2 separate regions of the Homo sapiens genome follow, and region 2 is linked to region 1. Evidence: promoter capture Hi-C in 16 types of primary human blood cells and fetal thymus (Javierre and others, 2016). All regions are on one chromosome and are shown on one strand. Each heading gives the region's core, a stretch centred on a gene start or on the middle of the fragment in contact. The rest is flanking DNA. Distances are from core to core; before and after follow the strand shown. Region 1 holds the start of TPCN2 (two pore segment channel 2). Region 2 has its middle 20 kb from the start of CCND1.

What was found. Contacts are between HindIII fragments. The CHiCAGO score rates a contact against its expected background, and 5 or more counts as called.
Region 2: a fragment that was not itself captured here is called in contact with the fragment with the promoter of TPCN2 in region 1 in 1 of 17 cell types (activated CD4 T cells); the score reaches 5.5 in activated CD4 T cells.

Annotation. Positions count from the first base shown.
Region 1 is chr11:69,047,481-69,051,615 of GRCh38, reverse strand. TPCN2 (two pore segment channel 2) reads right to left here and starts at 2,684. Exons shown (of 25, transcript NM_139075.4): 1 at 2,510-2,684. The coding sequence starts at 2,618. RefSeq lists an enhancer at 1-280 and silencers at 2,257-2,356, 2,437-2,606, 2,727-2,946. The HindIII fragment of the contact is 3,554 bases long and covers 1-2,944 here.
Region 2 is chr11:69,618,348-69,623,043 of GRCh38, reverse strand. No RefSeq gene overlaps it. Among named protein-coding and RNA genes, the nearest start is that of CCND1, 20 kb to the left of the region's middle. The HindIII fragment of the contact is 1,562 bases long and covers 1,945-3,506 here.

The DNA of each region.
Region 1 (4,135 bases), core at 1,435-3,934:
ACCAGGCCTCGACACGGCTTCCTAATCCAAGCCTCTGCCCCGCAACATCCAGGTCTGAGCTCCCGCTCCCCTGTTGCTCCAGGCTCCAGGCTGCACAACCTGTGTAGGGTCCTGACCATCATCCTCTGTGACCCTGGGCAAGTCCCTTAACCTCTAGGTGCTCCAGGTCCTCATGGACCCCCACCCAATAGGAGCTAAGTACAGACTGAATGACTTACTATAGCCAGAGTACTTTGCTAAGTGAGCCCTTCATAAGCATTCAGTTACTCTGAAAGCCTCTACAGCATCGCAATCCCTTGTCCTCTGACTTGTTTGATAACCAGTAAAAGTGTGATTTTTCTGACCCAGCAACAAGAGAAAACAACTGTTCTCAACCTTTGACCCCGGCCCCATCAGGTGGGGCCAAGTCAAAACGACCCAACAGCAGGGTCCACTGGGGTCCTTGGGGCACCCACAGCAGCAGCCCTCACCACAACCCGTTGGCAAGAGACCAACCACAGGACTTGCAAACCAGAGCACAGGGCCTTCATTTCAAAGCCTGGCACAGGCCTCAGCACAGAGACTGAATGAGCCTTTCGGAGTCTCCATGGCTCCATAGTCTGCCAGTCCTTGCTGGGGACCCTGGCCAAGGGGATTCAGAACACAGAGCGTCCTGTCCACGTTCTCAGAAGCCCTGGCTGAGGCCACAGCATAGGGACAAAGAGCGCTCCCCGAGAGCCTCCTCTTGTCAGCCACACTGCCCAGCAGAGCGGGTCTCACCTGCCAGGGAGGACCTGCAATGATCACAGAGCTTACCCAGGACGGCCACTGGCCCCCACACCAGCCCGCCGGGCCCTGTGCTGAGGACAAACTCTGGATTCTCTCTGAATCCTCACAATGCCCGCCAGGCAGTCCTTAGTATTATCTCCCTTTTACTGAGATTCGGAAAGGTGAAGCATGGCCAGGCACAGTGGCTCACGCCTGTAATCCCACCACTTTGGGAGGCCGAGGCAGGCAGATCACCCGAGGTCAGGAGTTTGAGACCACCCTGGCCAACACAGTGAAACCCCATCTCTACTAAAAATACAAAAATTAGCCAAGTGTGGTGGCGGGCGCCTGCAGTCCCAGCTACTTGGGAGGCTGAGGCGGGAGAATCGCTTCAACCCAGCAGAGGTAGAGGCTGCAGTGAGCCGAGATCACGCCACTGCACTCCAGCCTGGGTGACAGAGTGATACTCCATCTCAAAAAAGAAACAGAAAGGTTAAGCAACCTGCCAAGGTCACACAGCCAGTGCAGCCCCAGAAAGGCGCCCAGACCCCTAGACACAAAGTCTGTGTTCCCTGAACGGTGCCATATGCTGGGCGTCTCATCAAGGGGCCTGCCAGAGCTGCTCCCTGCAGATCTCCTTCCTGACTGGTCCCAGGAAGCACCTGAAGAACTTCCTGGAGGCAGCTTCTGAGGTGAGCAGACAGGGTGGCCACCTTGGCCTCTGGTTTTTCATCTCTCGTCAGGGTCCCCTCCTTGGCCCCTCATTACTCCATGGATGGGCACATGCCACAGACCAGTGGGTGGGCACCAGGATTCCAACCCAGTTCCTTCCAGACAGAGGAGGAAAGAAGGAAAGAGAGGCCAGAGAGGGAAGGAGCCAGGTGTGAATTCTCAGAGTGGTTCGAGCAGCAGCCGCACCAGAACAGAGGGCTGTGACCTTGGGCAGGTCTCAGGGCCTCTCTGGGCCTCAGTTTCCTCATCTGTGAAGTGAAGCTAAGGTCCTTCCACCTCTTAATCCAGAATCTCATTCCCCTGGTGTCAGCGAGGGGCGGACGCACCCCACCCTCGGGGGGCGGATTCAGCAATCTTCAGACCAGGACAAAAAACGGGAAGGGCAGGAGGGAGTGCAGAGGGGACTCTGGGGTGGCAGAGGGCAAGGAGAGGAAGCCGCCCCCGTCTAGGGGGCCCGCCCCAGCCCCACGGGAAGTGGGACGGGGAAAGGCACCCTACAAAGAAAGGACTCCTAGCTCCCAACTGGTTCGAATCCCACCTCGGCCACTTACTGGGTGTGTGACCTTGGGTAGGGTAACGCCTCTCTGTGAGCCTCTGCTTTTTCCAGAAGAAACGGGAAAAATCAAAGTGCTGCCTTCTCTGAGTCAATTAGGCGACCCTCATTACGGCGACAGTCGGGAAGTATGGGGTCTGGGCCCGCCCGGGCACACGGAGGGTGCCTGCCGCAGGTGGCCGGTTCCCTCGGGGCTGCCCAAGGCTGGGCGAGGGCCTCTTCGCCCAGCTGGTCGGGATCAGGACGCGACACGGAAGAGACCCCAGCTCTGCCCTGACCCCGGTCCGGGTCCGCAGGACGCAGCCCACTCGCCCTCAGAACACCGGCTCGCCTGGCACCCGGCGCGGCCCGGGCCCCGCTCGGACTCGAACCTGGTGGGGGCGCGCCCGGCAGAAAGCGGGGTGCTGGGACAGCGGGACCCCCACGCGCGACCCTGGTCTCCCGGGCCAGTCCCCTCCCCAGGTCCGGGCGGCTCACCAGGGCCGACTTGGATGCTGCGGTAAGTGGTCAGCCCCGCCGGCCAGTCGCCGCCACCGCCGCGGGCCCCGCCCAGCAGGGGCTCCGACTCCGCCTGGGGTTCCGCCATCCAGCAGCCCACGCGCTGGACCCGACCCTCAGAAGCTCAAGCCCCGAAGGCGCCCAGCTTCACTGCGCAGGCGCGGAGACCCCGTCCCTGGCGTTTTTGCTGACGCGCGCACGGCACTGTGGCGCAGGGGATCCCTGCAGTCCCAGCCAATGAGAACGGGGAGGGAGGGGTGGGGTTCTCCTGAGTGGGGCGGAGCTAAAGGGCCCCGCCCCTCTAGGGTGGAGCTCAGCTTCGTTCCACCCAGGGCGGGGCAGCGTTCTGGGGCTTAAGGGCCGAGGGCTGGGGAGGAAATATGTTCTCAAAGGATGTCTTTCCGGCCAGAAGCTTCAGCATCACCTGGAAACATTTTAGAAATGCAAATTCTTGGGCCCTTAAACCTACTAAATCAGCAACTCTGCGGGGAGGACCCAGGAATCTGTGTTTTAACAAGCATTCGGGGTGATTCTGATGCATGTGAGTATTGAGTACACGGGGTGACTGCAAAGGACTCCCCCCAGAATGGAACTGGAGTTTACCCTCTGATGGTGAAATTAGGAGGATTCAATATCATTAAGGGAAAAGTTTAAAAACATATGACACACTTAAAAAATATTTACAACGTATATAAAAAGTGTTTTCAACATTAATGCATAAAGACCTTGTATTCGTTTTCTATTGCTACAGTGACTAATTACCACAATCTGAAAATATAAAATAACTCCCATTCATCATCTTTCAGTCCTGCGGGGCAGGAAACCTCCTGTCTCAGGGCCTCACGAGGCTAGAGTCAAAATGTCAGCTGCCGTGGGCTCTTATCTGCAGACTCTGGGGAAAGCCCACTTCCAGGCTCATCCAGGATGTTAACAGAATTGTCTCCATGGGCCTAGGACTGAAGTCCACGTCTTCTTGCTGGATGTTGGCTGGTGTCATTCTCACTCCTAGAGGCCACTGCATTCCTTCCACGATGGCTTGAACACCTCCATCATCAGAGCCAGCAAGCAAGAGCACGCTGAAGACGCTTCGAGATGCAGCAAGACGCCTGTAATCCCAGCCCTTTGGGAGACCGAGGCAGGTGGATCACGAGGTCAGGAGATCGAGACCATCCTGGCCAACATGGTGAAGCCCCGTCTCTACTGAAATACAAAAAGTTAGCCAGACGTGGTGGCACGTGTCTATAGTCCCAGCTACTCGGAGGCTGAGGCAGGGGAATCGCTTGAACCCGGGAGGCGGAAATTGCAGTGAGCTGAGATTGCGCCACTGCACTCCAGCCTGGCAACAGAGCGAGACTCCATCTCAAAAAAAAAGGTGCTGCAAGACGCTTCCAATCTCTGTGACTTCCCCTTCTGCCATACCTCTTTACTTTTTCCCCCTCTTTTGGGGAGGGGGGAGGGTTTAAAATAAATATAAAATTTACCATCATAACTGTGAAAGGAAAATAAATCTCAGGACTCCAAAATCACTAAGCCAAAGGGAAAAGTCAAGCTGGGAACTGCGTTGGGCAAACTGCCTCGCCTTTTCTTCTTTAATAAAATAGCTAC
Region 2 (4,696 bases), core at 1,476-3,975, 570 kb before region 1:
AAATAAATAAATAAATAAATAAATAAATGGAAAAAAGCACCTGAAATCTCGCTACTCAGACAGTATCGGTAATATTTTTTGTAGATCTTTTCAGACTTCTCTCAATGTTTAAATATAACAAATTAAATTTTTTCCCCAGGATGAGTAAATTCTGGATCTCTCTTGTACCACATGGTGACTAGAGTTAGTAATAATGTATCACATACTTGACAATTGCTAAGAGAGATCTTAAATGTTCTCACCGCAAAAGACAAAATGGTTAACTCTGTGAGGGGATGGATATGTTAATTAGCTTCATGTCAATGATACCTCAATAAAGCTAGAACAATTTTAAGTAAAAATGTAAAATAATATAGTGGGCCGGGCGCTGTGGCTCACATCTGTGATCCCAGCGCTTTGGGAGGCTGAGGTGGGAGGATCACTTGAGCCCAGGAGTTTGAGACCAGCCCGGGCAACATGGTGAGACCTTGTCTCTACAAAAAGTCAAAAAATTAGCCAGGCATAGTGGTGCGTGCCTGTGGTCCCAGTCACTCGGGAGGCTGAGAGTAGGAGGATCACTTGAGCGTTGGAGGTGAGCCATGATCATGCCACTGCACTCCTGCCTGGGCGACAGAGTGGGACCTTGTCTCAAAACCTAAATAAGTAAATGAGTAAATAAAAAGAGGAATTTGGGGATTTCTCAATCAATTCATTACATTCCTAAAAGTAACAGTGAAAAATCATTTGGCCTTTACTAAATGGTGTGTAGGAAAAACAGCTCTCTGGAAAGAAAAGCCCTGATTGGTGCATTTGTTGACTGCTTGATGGAAATACCCACACTGTGGCCACTTTCCTTCCTTCCTTCCTTCCTTCCTTCCTTCCTTCCTTCCTTCCTTCCTTCCTTCCTTCCGTCCTTCCTTCCTTCCTTCCTCCCTCCCTCCCTCCCTCCCTCCCTCCTTCCTTCCTTCCTTCCCTTTCTTTTTTATGGAGTCTCGCTCTGCTGCCAGGCTGGAGTGCAGTGGCGCAATCTGGGCTCACTGCAACCTCCACCTTCCGGGTTCAAGGGATTCTCCTGCCTCAGTCTCCCAAGTAGCTGGGACTACAGGCACACGCCACCACGCCCAGCTAATTTTTGTACCTTAGTAGAGACAGAGTTTCACCATGTTGGCCAGGATGGTCTCCATCTCTTGACCTCGTGATCTGCCCGCCTCGGCCTCCCAAAGTGCTGGGATTACAGGCGTGAGCCACTGTGCCTGGCCACTGTGGCCACTTTCAAGCTATACATGACTTAACAAATGGCTGGCAAATTTTCTGAATATTTAAGAGTTGTCTCTTGCCAGCTGGCAGGGATAAATTTTTCATCTTTATTATGCTGCTTCTTCCTAACAGGAGCGGGAAAAATTCTGTTTTTTATTTATCTTCCTTTATTTCTCCTATTAGGGTCTCACAATGCCCTTTGGGTAAGCATCTTATGTCGCCAATTAAATGGATATACAATTATTTGATTTTTAAATTGCTCTTGAATTCTCTTTTATTTTACATGCATTTTCTAGTTGCATTATATTCATGTAAGATGCACTTGATTAAATGTCTTCTTATGTATCTTCTGGAAGTAATTTACTGGTACTTTTGGTTGCTTTCCTAGGTTTATAATCATGGCTAAAAGACAATTCACATTTTAATGTCTTCTATTCTTATATTTACATGTTATTTCTTTTTCTTATTGATAGCTTTTGCCAGTGTTTCTAGTTTTAATTTAGTTTTATATTAAAATAGGAGTGGTAACCAGACAAGCGAGAGCATGTCCAGATTTTTAGTGCTAATGACTTTCTATTCCTTAAGCAATAATTGGCCTTTTTTTTTTTTTTTAAAGAGCTAGGGTTTTGCTATGCTGCCCAGGCTGGACTGCAGTAGCTGTCTACATGCATGATCATAGCTCACTGTGCAGCCTTGAATTCCTAAGCTTAGTTCATCTCCCTGCCTCAGCCTTCTGAGTAGCTGGGACTACAGGCACACACCACTGTGCCTGGTGGCTTTTGGTTTTAAATCCATAATCTTGGCCAGGTGCAGTGGCTCATGCCTGTAATCTCAGCATTTTAGCAGGCTGAGGAGGGAGGATTGCTTAAGCCCAGGAGTTTAAGAACAGCTTGGGCAACATGGCAAAAACCTGTCTCTACACAAAATGCAAACACTTAGCCGACTGTGGTAGAGTGCACCTGTAGTCCCAGCTACTCATGAGACTTGAGGTGGGAAGATTGCCTGAGCCTGGGGAGGTAGAGGCTGCAGTGAGCCAAGATTGTGCCACTGCACTCCAGCCTGAGTGACAGAGCAAGACCCTGTCTCAAAAAATAAAAAATAAAATTCCATAATCTTTATCATATTTAGAATAAAACCTGTCCCACAAATTTGTAGTGACTTTTTTTCAAATGCCTCCTTGATATTTATTGAGATAATTAAATGGACCTTGCTATTTCTCATGCTAATATGATAAATCATGTAAATCATTTTCCTGCTTGAATGCCACCGATATAGTCTTGGGATAAACTCTTCTTGGTTGCTATAGACCCTTTTTTTTTTTTTTTTAACTGGCAAGAGTCTCTGCTTGTATTTGGAATTTTAAGATAAACCTTTTATTCTGAAATAATTTTTATTTTTTTGAGACAGAATCTCGCTTGTCGCCCAGGGCCCAGGCTAGGGTGCAATGGTGTGATCTCGGCTCACTGCAACCTCCACCTCCCAGGTTCAAGAGAGTATCCTGCCTCAGCCTCCCAACTAACTGGGATTACAGGCATGTGCCACTGCACCCAGCTAATTTTTGTATTTTTAGTAGAGACGAGGTTTCACCATGTTGGTCAGGCTGGTCTTGAACTCCTGACCTCAGGTGATCTGCCCGCCTCGGCCTCTGAAAGTGCTGGGATTACAGGTGTGAGCCGCCATGCCCAGCCAATTCTGGAATAATTTTTGATAGTACAGAGTTCCCATATACCTCTCACCTGGTTTCTCCTATTGTTAACATCTCACATAACCACAGTACATTTGCCAAAGCTAAGAAACCAACACTGATATATTACTGTTTGATATAGTTTAGCTCTGTGCCCCCACCCAACTCTCACCTTGAATTGTAATAATCTCCACATGTCAAGGGTGGGGCCAGGTGGAGATAATTGGATCATAGAGGTGGTTTCCACCATGCTGTTCTCATGAGAGCGAGTGACTTCTTGTGAGATCTGATGGTTTTATCAGGGATTTCTTCTTCCACTCAGCACTCATTCTCTCTCCTGCTGCCCTGTGAAGAGGTTTCTTTTGCCATGATTGTAAGTTTCCTTAGGCCTCCCCAGCCATGCAGAACTGTGAGTCAATTAAACCTCTTTTCTTTATAAATGACCCACTCTTTGGTATTTCTTCATAGCAGTGTGAGAATGGACTAATGCACTGTTCATTAAACCCCAGACTTCTCTGGATTTGGCTAGTTTTCTTATTTGTGTTAGGATAGCCAAGGTCCATGTTCATGACTAATCTTTAAAGCTTCGCTGTTCTTAGTTTGATTCAAAACTCTAATCGTGTCATACTCCCATTGTGTCCCCCATTTTATATATATTTCTAATAGTTGATTTAGTGGAAGGATTATTTGTTCCTTGAAGGATACTAATTTTTCATGGTTTGAACTAAGTTGATAAACATGTGTAGAAGGTTAATATACTGTGATAATATTCTGTGTTCTTTGCTGTTCTAGAAGAATCCAAAGAAAACGAGAGCTATTTTTTTTTTTTTCTGTTTCCTACTTCTCCTTCCAGAGGGCAAGTGATACCTTGAGATAAGAGAGATAAGAGGACCAAGCTGCTCTGGCCCCAGGGAAGGGTTAAGACACTTTTCTTGGCTGGGCGTGGTGGCTCACACCTATAATCCCAGCACTTTGGGAGGCTGATGTGGGCGGATCATGAGGTCAAGAGATTGAGACCATCTTGGCCAACATGGTGAAACCCCGTCTCTACTAAAAATACAAAAATTAGCCGGACGTGGTGGTGCTCACCTGTAGTCCCAGCTACTTGGGAGGCTGAGGCAGGAGAATCTCTTGAACTTGGGAGGCGGAGGTTGCAGTGAGCCGAGATCATGCCACTGTACTCCAGCCTGGTGACAAAGCGAGACTGTGTCTCAAACAAACAAACAAACAAACAAAACAGACACTCCACTTTTAGAAAAGGGTTGAAATTTCTCAAGGGTTAGAGGAAGCTCTAGGGTTTGCAACAGGGCCTGGGAAGGAGTGGCCTAACTAAATGTGGCCAGACCTGGCAGACAAGATGGAGGCTCTATTTAAAAGAGGGGACATTCCAAGAGTGGGAAAGACCCTTGCGGTGTTCCTCCAGAGCACCCAGGAAAGTAGCAGGTCTCTGAGAAGTAGGGGAGAGAGAAGGAGACAGTTTTGGGGTGGGGCTCACTTCTTAGGATCCCTGTGCATCCTGGCATAGCAGGATGGAGCCCACCTTCACGTGGCCAACGAGAGCCACTCCTGGGCAGCCCAGATGGACCAAAGACCAGCGTCCTCTCTCCCACCGTGGAACCATGTAACTTACCAAATGCTTGTGTGACCCAGATGATGCTAACTTTCTGGAATCCCAGGATTGTCCTTGAACCTGGCCTTTCTTCTGTGGACATGCATTCCCTCAGTGATCTCATTCAGCTCAGGGATTTAAGTCCCATCTCGATACTGACCACCCAC